Regions from separate parts of the Homo sapiens genome. Here all the other regions are linked to region 1. Evidence: promoter capture Hi-C in 16 types of primary human blood cells and fetal thymus (Javierre and others, 2016). All regions are on one chromosome and are shown on one strand. The core of a region is centred on a gene start or on the middle of the fragment in contact, and the rest is flanking DNA. Distances in the headings are between cores, read along the strand shown. Region 1 holds the start of SDR9C7 (short chain dehydrogenase/reductase family 9C member 7). Region 2 has its middle 67 kb from the start of SDR9C7. Region 3 has its middle 61 kb from the start of HSD17B6.

Region 1 (4,400 bases), core at 740-3,239:
TCTACAGCCTCTAGAAGGAACACAGCTCTGCTGACTTTGATTTTAGATCAGTGAGGCCTATTTTAGACATTACTCCTCCACAACTACAAGATAATATGTTTGTATTGTCTTCAGACCCCACAGTTGTGTTATTTGTTACAATAGCAACAGGAAACTCACATGCTAAGTGAGGTATTAAGGCAAGTGGCTCAAGGCTGAATGTAGGGAACTGGCTGAGACAGCCTGCTGAAGACAGAGGCTCACTCTTGCTGAATTATTAATTAATTAGCTCACTCAAATCTATTTATTCAGTACCTTACTAGGTGCCAGACATTATTCTAGGTACTAAGGATGTACAGTAAATAAAAGGGACAAAAATCCTTGTCCCCAGGAAGCTTTATTCTAGCAGAGGAAACAGACAATAAATAAGTAAAATCTATTGTACATTGACTAGTGATAAGTGCTAAGGAGAAGAATCAAGCAGGGAGTTACTGTCTAGATCCCCCTGGCTCCAGGGCTCTGTTGCCCTGACCTGCGCATGGGCTCCAGACTAGTTCCTTTAGGAGGGAGGACTTCCTCTAGTCTGCTGCTTCTGCAACTCAGCCATCCTGTTCCTCCTGTTCCTGGGCCCACACCCTGTGTGCTGGAAGTGCATGAGGCAGGTCCCCACACAGTCCTGGGCCAGCCCCAGTCCACAGCTTCCTTTCCCAATAGGAGCAGCCACTGTGACATACATACTTGCCCTGAAGTCAAATCAACACCCACCATGATGTCAAGAAGAGACCAGATCTCTTTCTCCCCTGCCTGACATAGTCAAGGAGACAAACTGCACCCACTCATGGGATCCAGCCTCCTGTCTCATTCCCCCTCCCCCATCCTGATCCCAACAAGAAATGTGTTTGTATTTCCCCAGGAGCTGATGGTTAGGACTGCTGAAACATCAGAGAGGCACATCCTTTTTTTTTCTTTTTTTTCTTTTTGAGAGGGATTCTTGCTCTGTCACGAGGCTGGAGTGCAGTGGCGCAATCTTGGCTCACTGCAACCTCCGCCTCCCGGGTTCAAGTGATTCTCCTGCCTCAGCCTCCTGAGTAGCTGGGACTACAGGCACGTGCCACCACACCCAGGTAATTTTTATACTTTTTAGTAGAGATGGGGTTTCACCATGTTGGCCGGGATGGTCTCGATCTCTTGACCTCATGATCCTCCCACTTCGGCCTTCCAAAGTGCTGGGCTCATAGGCGTGAGCCACCACGCCCAGCCAGGCACGTCCATTTTTAGAGGTTTGGACACACAGAACACATCTTCCCCCCTCGCTTCCTATTGAGACCTCTTTCCCGTTTCTCTGAGTTTCCAGGACAGAAAACTTCCTTGGGAAATCACCCCTTCATGTGAACAGGCCAAACCATGCAGTGGCTTCCAATCAGATTGAGGCAGGGGCCTTTCCCTACATCACCCCTCCCACCCAATCTGGACATCAGGGTCTCTGATACTGTCAGATGCTTCGGGAGAGAGGAAGAGGAAGAAGGAGAAACCAAGAAAGCCAAAGAATGTAATTCGCCCCACCTTGTTCGCCCACTTTGTCCCTCACCCACTGGGCCGCCGCCTTGATGCTTTCGCTCTTGGTGACATCCAGTAGGGTGGTCTGCAGCCGATAGGAGGTATCCCGCTGAAGTTTCTGGGATCCCTCCTCAGTGAAGCAAGCAGCCAGCACCTGCATGCCCCGATCAACCAGCTGTTTGGCCAGCAGGTTCCCGAAGCCAGAGTCACAGCCTGTGATGAAGACGTACTTCTCTGAGAGGTTGCCAACCAGATTGCAGTTCTTGAACCAGCGATACATAAATGAGAGGTCTGTGAGGGCCGCCATAGGGCAAGGGGAATGTGATGGCCAAGAGGGACTGGGCTCAGGAGACAGCAGGGAAGAAGCTGGTCCTCTGAGCCCTAGCAGGCAGTCTGCAGGAAACCACCTGGAAGAAGAACTCTCCTTCCTCCCACAGCTTGCAACAAATCTAGGTCCCTGGGTGAGCCACGCTGTAATTTTTATAGGTGGATGCATCACCACAGCAATTAGCCCAGATGCAAGAAATTCAAGTCCAACCTGAAGCCTTGTCACCTCTGACAGCCCTGGTAGCTGCCTCCCTCTCTCCCCCTGCCCTGATGGGTAAAGCTGCCAAGAATTGGAAATAATCCACTTGTAATGTTGGTGATGAGTGGTGGCTCACCCAGGCGGTGTAAGGCAGGCAAATGAAAGATGAGGACTCACCCCAGACAGCTCCCCTAGAAATCCTGTCCCCACCCTGCCCCCAACCCAGCCTGGGGATTTTGGTCTCCAGGGATCAAAATCATTTGTCGTGAGTGCAGGTATGTAAATAAGTTTATTTTCAGGGAAAATACTCAAGACAAATTTATTAATGTAAAACAAACAACATTGGTTCTGTACCTTCCAAACCCCAAGAGAAACAAGTCGCAGGTCATCAGCTCTCTGGAATTCTTAGGTAAGTCTCCATCATGAGAGAGGATGAAAAGCAATGGATTTCTCCTAGGGTGGATGTACCTCCATTGTCCTGAGGCTAGAGGCAGCAGGGCCCTCCTATAGGGGAGGCTGGCATGTGAAGCTTAGCCACCAGAAAGCAGAAAGACCTGGGGGACTCAGGCCTGACACCCTGTGGGGGTCATACTCAGGTCACCAGTAAGCAGCCCTGGGCAAGATGATGAGGAGGGATCATGAGTTCACTGGGCAGCTGAGGGAATTGTCTGGGCAGAGGCCTTGACTGTAAGAGGGGATGAGATATAGGAGGAGCAGAGAACTGGGGCCAGAGACATAGAAAATTCTCAGGGTCGGGACTTGGAGGAGAAACAGAGATTCTAGGCAATTTAGCAAATAATTTACAGAAAGCTAAGAGGTAAGGTGGTAAAGGAAAGGAAATAAGGAAACCAGAGGTGTGAGTAGTGAGGGGCCACACCCAGAATTGCATAAGATGCAGGGAATGATGCTGGAGCCTCTGTGGTTCTTTGGATCAACATCTAGGGTCACCATTCCTTGGGATGAGCCTGGTCCTAGCTCACACCTTCATGGCTTAGCGAGTCTGACACAGAAATGGGACCACAAAGTTCTCTAGTGTGAAGGGACAAAGGATGTATCTCTGTGATCCACCATTTGCCAAGTCTGACCAGCGTGGAATCACATAAAGCAGGTGTCACCCTGGGAAAGCCCCGCAGGGTTTGGCCGTTCCTTAACAAAGTAGGGGAGGGGGCCAGATTATGAACCCACCCCCAAAGAGCAGACCTAAAGCTTATAGGGGATGGAGGTGGGAAATGGTAGAAAGCAAACCACACCTACTTCATAACCAACCTGAGGCAGAGCACCTCCTATGCGGGATCTGGGAACAATCTCCCAGTCTCTGTCTGCCTCCTGGGTGAATGAACAGAGAAGTCTTGGCTGAAACAGGTCAGACCATGTCACTCAAGACTGAGCAGGTCCGGGGCATTGGGTATCCCAGTCCTTGAGGACACAGGTGAGGTCCAGGAGTTGGGTCTGACTTAGCATAAGGATAACTCAGAACTGCCCCAGCACAGGCCTGGGCCTGACTCAGCACCTCCTGGGCCTCTATGCTGGCAGTGTTCCCCTGGCCTCAAACTAAACACACAGTCCATGAGGGTGGGGGGTGTGAGGGAGGTAGGACCACATAGAAGGCTCTTCTTCCCAGGGCTAGAAATGCCTCCCTCTCTCAGATGACAGCATTCCTTGCCAAGCTGGCCCCTAAGGTCTGATAGGTCAGGTTGGTAGCTGCACTCCCCATCCCCACCCCATGCACACAGGTATCTCAGAGGAGAGGAGCCCTCTCCTCTGCCAGGCCATTTCCCTCCAGTGGGAGAGCATAGACTGCTGAGGTCCAAGACACACCCTGATGAGGTAGACAGGAGGAAGAGCAGGTGTGGGCTCACCCACCCCCAGTTGCTCAAGACCTTCCACAAGTGTGGATTCTTCAGGTTGACAGGTGGGCCATGAAGCTCAGAGCCCAAGGAAGTGGGATGCCATTATCTGTGATTGGGTCTCCCTTCCTAAGCAGCAAAATGTGGTTCTTTCCTCCTAATATCACCAGAGTCCTGAATAACGTCCCAGAAAAAAACTAGAACAGAGGTGAGGGAAGTGAGGTACATGACCCTGAACTTGAGAGCTCCCTCCCACCACTCTATTTCTCACCCCATGAAACAGCACCCCTCCCAAGTGCAATGATGTTAAAGTGAGGGCCGGTCACTGAGTGCTACAAAGAGGTCGCTACAAAGTGCTACAAAGAGGCCTGCCAGTGCCTTTGTGACATGTCATTGCTTCCTTGTCCCTCTGTGCACTCCTGTGACCCCAGGCTACTTGATTCACTCCTGGAAAGGAAACAATTGCCCCTCACCTTGGTGGCAGAAAGGGC
Region 2 (4,466 bases), core at 1,333-3,832, 66 kb before region 1:
GTGCCTACTTGTCCTTTGCATTCTGCCATGATTGTAAGTTTCCTGAGGCCTTCTCAGCCATACTTCCTGTAACTTTGAGCACCTCAGTTAGCCATGGGGAATTCATTTAGTCTGTTGGCCAGGGGCATACTTTGACATTTCACTCCCTTTGGTTGAAACCTGCCATAGGCAGCATTGACTACCAGTGTTATGTCTTTGTCCCATATTATTGTTGAAGTGATGTGGCTACCTGCTCTGGGTCTGTCTAGTCCCTTGGTGGGACTTCTGTGACTAAGAGCTCATAGCCAATTTGAACAGCCTGGGCCAGGCAAGGTAGAAAGTCAGGTAAGCACCTGTTAATTGTCTAAGAGTGTTCCTTGTTGGAGTTTGGCAGAGGCATCAGGAAATTAGGAGAATTCAGGGTGTAGTCCAGTCTACAGGTAAATAACAAGGATCTGAAAACAATGTACAGATCTACAATATAGTAACAGTTATATAGTTTTTCTTTGGAAACATAAGTTTTTCTTTTTACACTGATTTTATAGGAATCTTAAATTTAAAACCTTTTGAGTTTAGGAAGCCAAATGAAGGCAAACTTTAGATTTCACTTACAATCTTAGTGTCCTTGGGCATGCCTGGAAGTAGCAATTTTGACTCACTTACGGTAAGCCTGGGAACTCTTGAAGCCAGGCATTTTATGTACATTCTTAAATATGACATTTCAGTCAAAACCTTGATATTATAACTGAGAATTCCACTTGTATCCTGCTTATAGAGAGCATGTAAATAAAATAAGAATACTCAAAAATAGTTTCTAAATTTTGGAGATCTCAAGTAGGGAGAAAAAGCAAATGCTTCCACTTTTGTTAACGAAAGGATATTTTACCAAATTATTACAAACTATAAAAAATTATGAAGTAAATTTCCTTGAATCTGAAAAACAAAACATGTAAGACCAAGAATGCTCTAAATAAAAGTCATAAAACATTATCCTTATCAATTACTTAATTTCATGTAATCAATTTTACCTTGCTTGACACTGATCAGCAGTTCCATGAAAAGCAATTTTGGACTATAGCTGATTGACAACACATATCACTATATCTCAGAATTTTATCACATGAAATTTTGAAACACATTTTAATAACACATTTACACATGCAACTTAAAGAAAGTTAAAAATAATTTTTATTTGACAATGCTTCCTAATAATATCTAAAAGATTTAATTTAGGGCTTTGATCCCAGGAAACCTTCCAAAGATGTCACAAGCTTTAAAGTTCAAAGTATCTGATTCAATAGAATCAAAGTTCGCTGCAAGATGATAGTTATTCATTTAACCAGACTGACAATCAAAAGATGTCAAAAACAATAGAAAAAGTTACATGAATGTAAAAACCTTAACCCTTTTAAAGCTCAGTTTTCCTAAGTAATAAAAAACCTAATAAAGATAACTTGAAGCACAGGAAATTATCTTGGTAAAACAGAATCTTTGTTTCCTAGGCCAATTGCCCACAAGGCAAAGAAAAGAAAATCTCTTGCAATGTGATTGCTTTTTCTTTTGGTAAGTTCATTTAGATAACCTGAAAGTTAAACCTGATGAAAAGTGAACTGGCAGAACCAGAAAAATGTTACAGGAGTCAACAAAAAGGTTGAAGGAGAATGTTATCATCCCAACCAAGCAAAAACCATATCTTTTTAGGATAGAAAGAAGTAGAGCTGTATTTCCAACCTGAAACTAGAGAAAGAAGTTAGATAGATTCCAGGGAGAAATGTGGCAGAAATAGAAACTGTTTGTAATTGAGAGGATGGCTGTCAAAGAAACACATTTCAGAATTAATCAAAACCTCCTATAATTTTACTAAGAGCAAATCAACATTCTAAAGAAACCTTGCTATTCTAACACACGGGACAAAATCTGCATCAGTGTGTTTTTCACATCAAAGTTCAATCCCTAGTAAGACCCATAAATAATTTCCCTCCAATTGTAGACAAAGTGATGACACAGAAAATTTCCTCTATAAATGCTATTTTTATAAACCTTATCATGACTTACTCAGACCATTTATGATATGCTTGGACATTCTGCTTTTTCTTACACTTTCTCTTTCTTAAATAACCAATCATTTTACTCTAGGAGAAAAATTTGCCATACAACATTCTTTCTTATACAAAATAATCCTCTTCCTTTTCAACCTTCCTTACCAAAAATACATCATATACTTCTCATATGCTTACATATGGAATGGTCTTTTTCATCTCTAGTAGTTTAATCACACACATTAGTTATAATGTCAACTCTTAGAAACCCTAATTTTCAAAGAAAACCCAGGAAGTTATCAATTTTTCTTTTGAGACAGAGTCTCACTCTATCACCCAGGCTGGAGTGCAGTGGCACAATTTCAGCTCACCTCAACCTCTGCCTCCTGGGTTCAAGCTATTCTCATGTCTCAGCCTCCCAAGTAGCTGGGACTACAGGCACACACCACCACACCTGGCTAATTCTTATATTTTTAGGACAGATGGGGTTTTGCTGTGTTGGCCAGGGTAGTCTCAAACTCCTGACCTCAGGTGATCCACCTGCTTTGGCCTCCCAAAGTGCTGGGATTACAGACATGAGCCACCACACCCAGCTAGAAGTTATCAACTCTTAACCACCAATCACATACCAAAAATCCATGATACACATTTTACAATTTCCAGAGACATAGGCTTTCTAACAAAACAACTCTTTAATATGAAACAGGACATTTCTACTAACAGATTCAAATAACTTTTGTTTTTCTTGGAAATAAGAAGCCAGCAGTATATGAGCCTATACTTACATTCAACAACAAATATCTCAGCATTATATTTTATCTGTAAATGACCTAGACATTCAATGAACATCCATCATTTAATTTAGCTTAACTAAACTCTTAGGGTATACTTACCAAAGAGATTTAAAAAACCTTCCCAAGTAAACATATTACAAAACATAAACCATTATCAAAAGTTAATTTACAAAATTTATCCTGTCCACATTCACCAAATCCATTCACTCTCAAAGAATTATGCCTAGAAAATTTCCAGAGACATCAAACAAATCTAGCCATTATCCCAAGCTGTTTCTGTCAACCAATTGTACATTACTGCCTTCCAGGCAAATATTATAAAAGCAAGAACTCTAAAGTTAAATACAAGCACATTTTGCTGATAACTCAGAAGATGCAGCAATTTCCATCAAAACAACAATTTTTTTAAAATTATTTAACAATTATTTAACAATATTAGTCTAGTCCCATCTGCCAAAAGATGACTAAATCACATTAACTTGAAAAGCATTTCAGATTATTTGCTTAATCTATGAGTATTCTTTTTTTTTTCTTAAGAGATGGGCTCTCACTGTCACCCAGGCTGGAGTGCAGTGGCCCAATCATAGCTGACTGCAGCCTCAAAGTCCTGGCCAACACAGCAAAACCCCATCTGTCCTAAAAATACAAGAATTAGCCAGGTGTGGTGGTGTGTGCCTGTAGTCCCAGCTACTTGGGAGGCTGAGACACGAGAATAGCTTGAACCCAGGAGGCAGAGGTTGAGGTGAGCCGAGTGATCCTCCCACCCCAGCCTCCTGAGGAGCTTGGATTACAGGCATAAGCCATTGCACCTGGTGAGTACTCATTTATTTATAAAACAATTTGGAATTATAGACAATATATGAATAGATATGTAAACATATATATACACAAAAATACAGACACAAATAAAGATCTTATAGCTTTTGTTTTAAAACTTAGCTATGAGTTAAGTAAAACTGATTAGTTTAAAAAAACAATTTGATTCCAACTGCATTTCTGTAAATGGAACAGGTTGAAATTTATCTGTTCCACATGGCTGAAGCCTTTACCGAGCTTTAAAGAAAACAAGGTAGGAAATTTATACCTCAAGCACAGAAAGAATTTAAGCTTTTTCAAGAAGTCTGGGTGTGTTAGAAGAGGATTAAAATGGATATCAATGTAACATACAATTGCAGGAATTTCTCACAGGATTTTACAAGAAAACACACAGACAAGTTCAGAAAAAATTTAGAAATGTTTCCAAAATAACCAGCTGAAAGAGTGAAAGAGGCAGGAGAAAGTGAAGGATAAAGGACAGGTGGCAAAAAGATTTTCTGAAAGAAAGACTGGAAGAAGACAAGAAGACAGGAAGAGTGGCAGAAAGGGGAATGAAGACAGGAAGAGTGGCAGAAAGGGGAGTCTAGTGGAAGAAGTTTCTTCCAGAGGGTTTTTTGCAGTTTTAGTTTCAGGCTTAAAGCTCTAATCTCTCTTTCTATTTCATTAAGGCATTCACTCAATTTGGAATTATTTTCTCTCTCTCTCTCTCTCTCTCTCTCTCTCTCTCTCTCTCTCTGTCTTTCTGAGACAAGGTCTCACTCTGTCACCCAGGCTGGAGTGCAGTGGTGCAATCTCAGCTCATTGCAGCCTCCGCCTCCCTGGTTCAAGTGATTCTCAT
Region 3 (4,251 bases), core at 1,036-3,535, 110 kb before region 1:
GTTGTATGAAATCAAGGTTTAAGGGATCCAGGGCTGTGCAGGACGTGCCTTGTTAACAAAATGTTTACAAGCAGTATACTTGGTAAAAGTCATCGCTATTCTCTAGTCTCAATAAACCAGGGGCACAATGCACTGCGGAAAGCCACAGGGACCTCTGCCCTTGAAAGCGGGGTATTGTCCAAGGTTTTGCCCCATGTGATAGTCTGAAATATGGCCTCATGGGATGAGAAAGACCTGACCGTCCCCCAGCCCGACACCCGTAAAGGGTCTGTGCTGAGGTGGATTAGTAAAAGAGGAAAGCCTCTTGCAGTTGAGATAGAGGAAGGCCACTGTCTCCTGCCTGCCCCTGGGAACTGAATGTCTCGGTATAAAACCCGATTGTACATTTGTTCAATTCTGAGATGAGAGAAAAACCGCCCTATGGTGGGAGGCAAGACATGTTTGCAGCAATGCTGCCTTGTTTTTCTTTACTCCGCTGAGATGTTTGGGTGGAGAGAAACAAATCTGGCCTACGTGCACATCCAGGCATAGTACCTTCCCTTGAACTTAATTATGACATAGATTCTTTTGCTCACATGTTTTTTGCTGACCTTCTCCTTATTATCACCCTGCTCTCCTACTACATTCCTTTTTGCTGAAATAATGAAAATAATAATCAATAAAAGCTGAGGGAACTCAGAGACCGGTGCCGGTGCAGGTCCTTGGTATGCTGAGCGCCGTTCCCCTGGGCCCACTGTTGTTTCTCTATACTTTGTCTCTGTGTCTTATTTCTTTTCTCAGTCTCTCGTCCCACCCAACTAGAAATACCCACAGTTGTGGAGGGGAAAGTCACCCCTTCACTTTTCTTTTCTTTTCTTTCTTTTTCCTTCCTTCCTTTTTCTTTCTTTTCTTTCTTTTTTTTTTTTTTTGACGGAGTCTTGTTCTGTCACCCAGGCTGGAGTGCAATGGCGCTATCTCGGCTCACTGCAACCTCCACCTCCCAGGTTCAAGCAATCCTCTTGCCTCAGCCTCCCGAGTATCTGGGATTACAGGCGTGTGCCACCACGCCCAGCTAGTTTTTGTATTATTAGTAGAGATGGGGTTTCACCATGTTGGCCAGGCTGGTCTCGAACTCCTGATCTCAGGTGATCCACCTGCCTCAGCCTCCCAAAGTGCTGGGATTACAGGCCTGAGCCACCGTGCCCGGCCCAGAACAATTTTCATATAATCTATTGACTTGCCTGCCCTAAGACAAAGGCCGTTGTTTTGAGGTAGCCTTAGTTTACTTTCCAAGTTCCATCTGCTTTTCCACTGGAGTTCAGAGGTCTTTCATGGCCAGCCCATTCTGCCATCCATGACCTTTGATGGAGCCTGTTCTCAGCTCAAGGCAATCTCCAGAAACTGAAGAACATGACCTTTCTAAATGCAAGTAAGAATTCGTCAAAGAAACTTGTGCTGGTTAAAGCTTAAGATAACCGGATAGCCAATAAATTCAGAGATAGAGGCATGACTACTTGGGACAGGCTTTTAAGAAAACTGTGATTATATTTCTTTGGCAAAATTAAAACTTGATGGAAACTCAGGGAACATTTTGTCTAACCTAGATAATAAAAGCAAAGTCATATCTTTTCCTTGTTTAAATGACATGGGGGGGGGCTGGGTTGGATGAGAGTGAACTGGGAGGACACAGAGATCTGTATTTGGAACATGAGAAAATGTGCTAGGCAATCTGAAACAATATTGATCATTACTCTTTTAGCTACATCTTATAAGTTGATTACTTTTTACAGAAATAGAATTTTGTCTAGACTATTGGATAAGCTCTAGGAAAAAAAGTTGATTTCCCACATGAATGCTTGGGATCATCAATTTTCATTTATGCTTTTGATCAAATACTATTTGGCTAATACATTCATAGGGTCCTCTAGTTTTCCCAACCTTTTTATCTATCCCGACTAAGAAATACAGAGTGCCTTGACCACTCTGTGACCTGGCCAGTTGCATGTTTTTTTGCAGGGTTAAGTCAGGTCCTTGAACATTCCCAGGCTCTGGTAAACATGTTTAGGTTGTTGTCCAGAACACTGAAAGAAACTAGCCCCAGCCCTTAACCAAACTCCTCAAACCCTCATATAAACTCCATAACACAACCCCCTTATTGCAGACATAGCTAGGTGGAACATCTCTTTCGCTTGCTGTTGAGAGGATTCCTGCAGCCCCTTTTGTAAGTAAGTTCCCCTGATAAATACTTTAGACTAATTACCCTGGTGTTTAGTGCTTCTCTCTTTGGAATCTCAACCAGCCCCATCTCCAAATGGTTTACAGATAATCCTTCTTGGGAATTTCCCTGCTACAGACTTTGGGGCTCCAGTTTTGGTTTCGGCCTGGACAAAACAACACTGCAGGAATAGTTTAAGGTATTTGCCTTTTGTGATAGTGTCCATTATAATATTATTTTCTTATTACTATTAATTTTTTTTTTTTTAGAGGCAGAGTCATCCAGGCTTCAGTGCAGCAGTGGCGATCACAGCTCACTGCAGCCTCAAACTCCTGGGCTTAAGTGATCTGCTCACCTCAGCCTCCTGAGCAGATGGGACTACAGGTGTACTACCACATCTGACTAATTTAAAATTTTTTTTATAGAGATGGTGTCTCCCTCTGTTGCCCAGGCTGGTCTCAAACTTCAGGGCTCTAGGGATCCTCCTGCCTTGGCCTCTCAAAGTGTTGGGAGTACAGGTGTGAGCCACTGCACTTGGCCTATTATTACTATTATAATTATTTTTCAACCACCTGGTAAATTTGCGAGGGTTGTTTTGTTAAGTAAATAAATCAAAATCTTCCCTGGAAATTTAAGGGAGAAATGTCGAGGAAGAAGTTCATGTCATTTGAGGATAATTGGCTGCACAGTTACTCTTTTGCAGAGGAAGGCATGTGTTTGTGATGGACATAGCAGCTGTCAATATGCCCCCACTATCAGAGGGTATACCAAACCTGCAAACTCTTTGTTTCGGCAGCAAAATATATTAACAAAAATTCAGGAGTGGACAGAAGTTTCTAATTTTGATGTAGTCCAATGTGTCCATTTTTTTTCCTCTTGTTGCCTGTGCTTTCAGTGTCATATCCAAGAAATCACTGCCAAATCCAACGTCATGAAGCTTTCTCCCTGTTTTTTTGTTTTTTGAGACAGGGTCTTGCTCTGTTGCCCAGGTTGGAGTGCAGTGGCATGATCAGAGCTCACTGCAACCTCTGCCTCCTGGGCTCAAACAATCCTCCCTCCTCAGCCTCCCTAGTAGCTGGAACTACAGGTGCATGCCACCATGCCTGGCTAATTTTTGTATTTTTTGTAGAGATGGGGTCTTGCCATGTTGCCCAGGCAGGTCTCCAATTCCTGGGCTCAAGTGATCCACCTGCTGTGGCCTCCCAAAGTGTTGGGACTACATGTGTGAGCCACCACACTCGGCCATCTCCCTGTATTTTCTTCTAGGAGTTTTATAGTTTTAGTTCTTAAATTTAGGTCTTTGATCTATTTTGAGTTAATTTTTGCATATAGTGTAAGGTACAGGTCTAACTTCATTCTTTTGCAGGTGAATATTCAGTTTTCCCGTTACCATTTGTTGAAAAGATTGTCCTTTCCCCATTGAATGGTCTTGGCACCCTCGTTAAAAATCATTTGACCATATATGCAAGGGTTTATTTCTGTGTTATCTATTCTATTCCGTTGGTCTAGGTATCTGTCTTTATGTCAGTAACACACTGGTTTGATTATCATAGCTTTGTAGTAAGTTTTGAAATCAGGAAGTGAGAGATTGCCATCTTTGTTGTTCTTTTCAACATTGTTTTGGTTATTTGGGGTCATTTGATATTCCAAATGAATTTTAGAATGGATTTTTAAAATTTATGTAAAAATATTGTTGGGATTTTGATAGGGATTGCATTGACTCCGTAGATCACTTTTGGTGGTATTAATATCTTTACAATCTTAAGTCTTCCAATTCATGAATATGGAGTGCTTTCTGTTTATTTGCATCTTTTTTGTTGTTGTTGAGATGGAGTCTTCCTCCTTCGCCCAGCTGGAGTACAGTGATGCAATCTTGGCTCATTGCAGCCTCTGCCTCCCAGGTCCAAACGATTCTCCTGCCTCAGCCTCCCAAGTAGCTGGGATTACAGGTGCACACCACCACGCCCAGCTAATTTTTTGTATTTTTAGTAGAGATGGGGTTTCACCATATTGGCCAGGCTGGTCTCGAATTCCTGACCTCAGGTGATCCACCCGCC

What was found. The method cuts DNA at HindIII sites, captures the fragments that hold promoters and counts their contacts. A CHiCAGO score of 5 or more calls a contact.
Region 2: a contact is called between a fragment that was not itself captured here and the fragment with the promoter of SDR9C7 in region 1, in 2 of 17 cell types (M2 macrophages and erythroblasts). The highest score is 5.6, in M2 macrophages.
Region 3: a fragment that was not itself captured here is called in contact with the fragment with the promoter of SDR9C7 in region 1 in 3 of 17 cell types (erythroblasts, endothelial precursors and M1 macrophages); the score reaches 7.1 in erythroblasts.

What each region holds. Positions count from the first base shown.
Region 1 is chr12:56,932,419-56,936,818 of GRCh38, forward strand. SDR9C7 (short chain dehydrogenase/reductase family 9C member 7) reads right to left here and starts at 1,990. Exons shown (of 4, transcript NM_148897.3): 1 at 1,543-1,990. The coding sequence starts at 1,843. The HindIII fragment of the contact is 2,217 bases long and covers 373-2,589 here.
Region 2 is chr12:56,865,394-56,869,859 of GRCh38, forward strand. No RefSeq gene overlaps it. Among named protein-coding and RNA genes, the nearest start is that of SDR9C7, 67 kb to the right of the region's middle. The HindIII fragment of the contact is 2,669 bases long and covers 1,249-3,917 here.
Region 3 is chr12:56,822,297-56,826,547 of GRCh38, forward strand. No RefSeq gene overlaps it. Among named protein-coding and RNA genes, the nearest start is that of HSD17B6, 61 kb to the left of the region's middle. The HindIII fragment of the contact is 1,687 bases long and covers 1,443-3,129 here.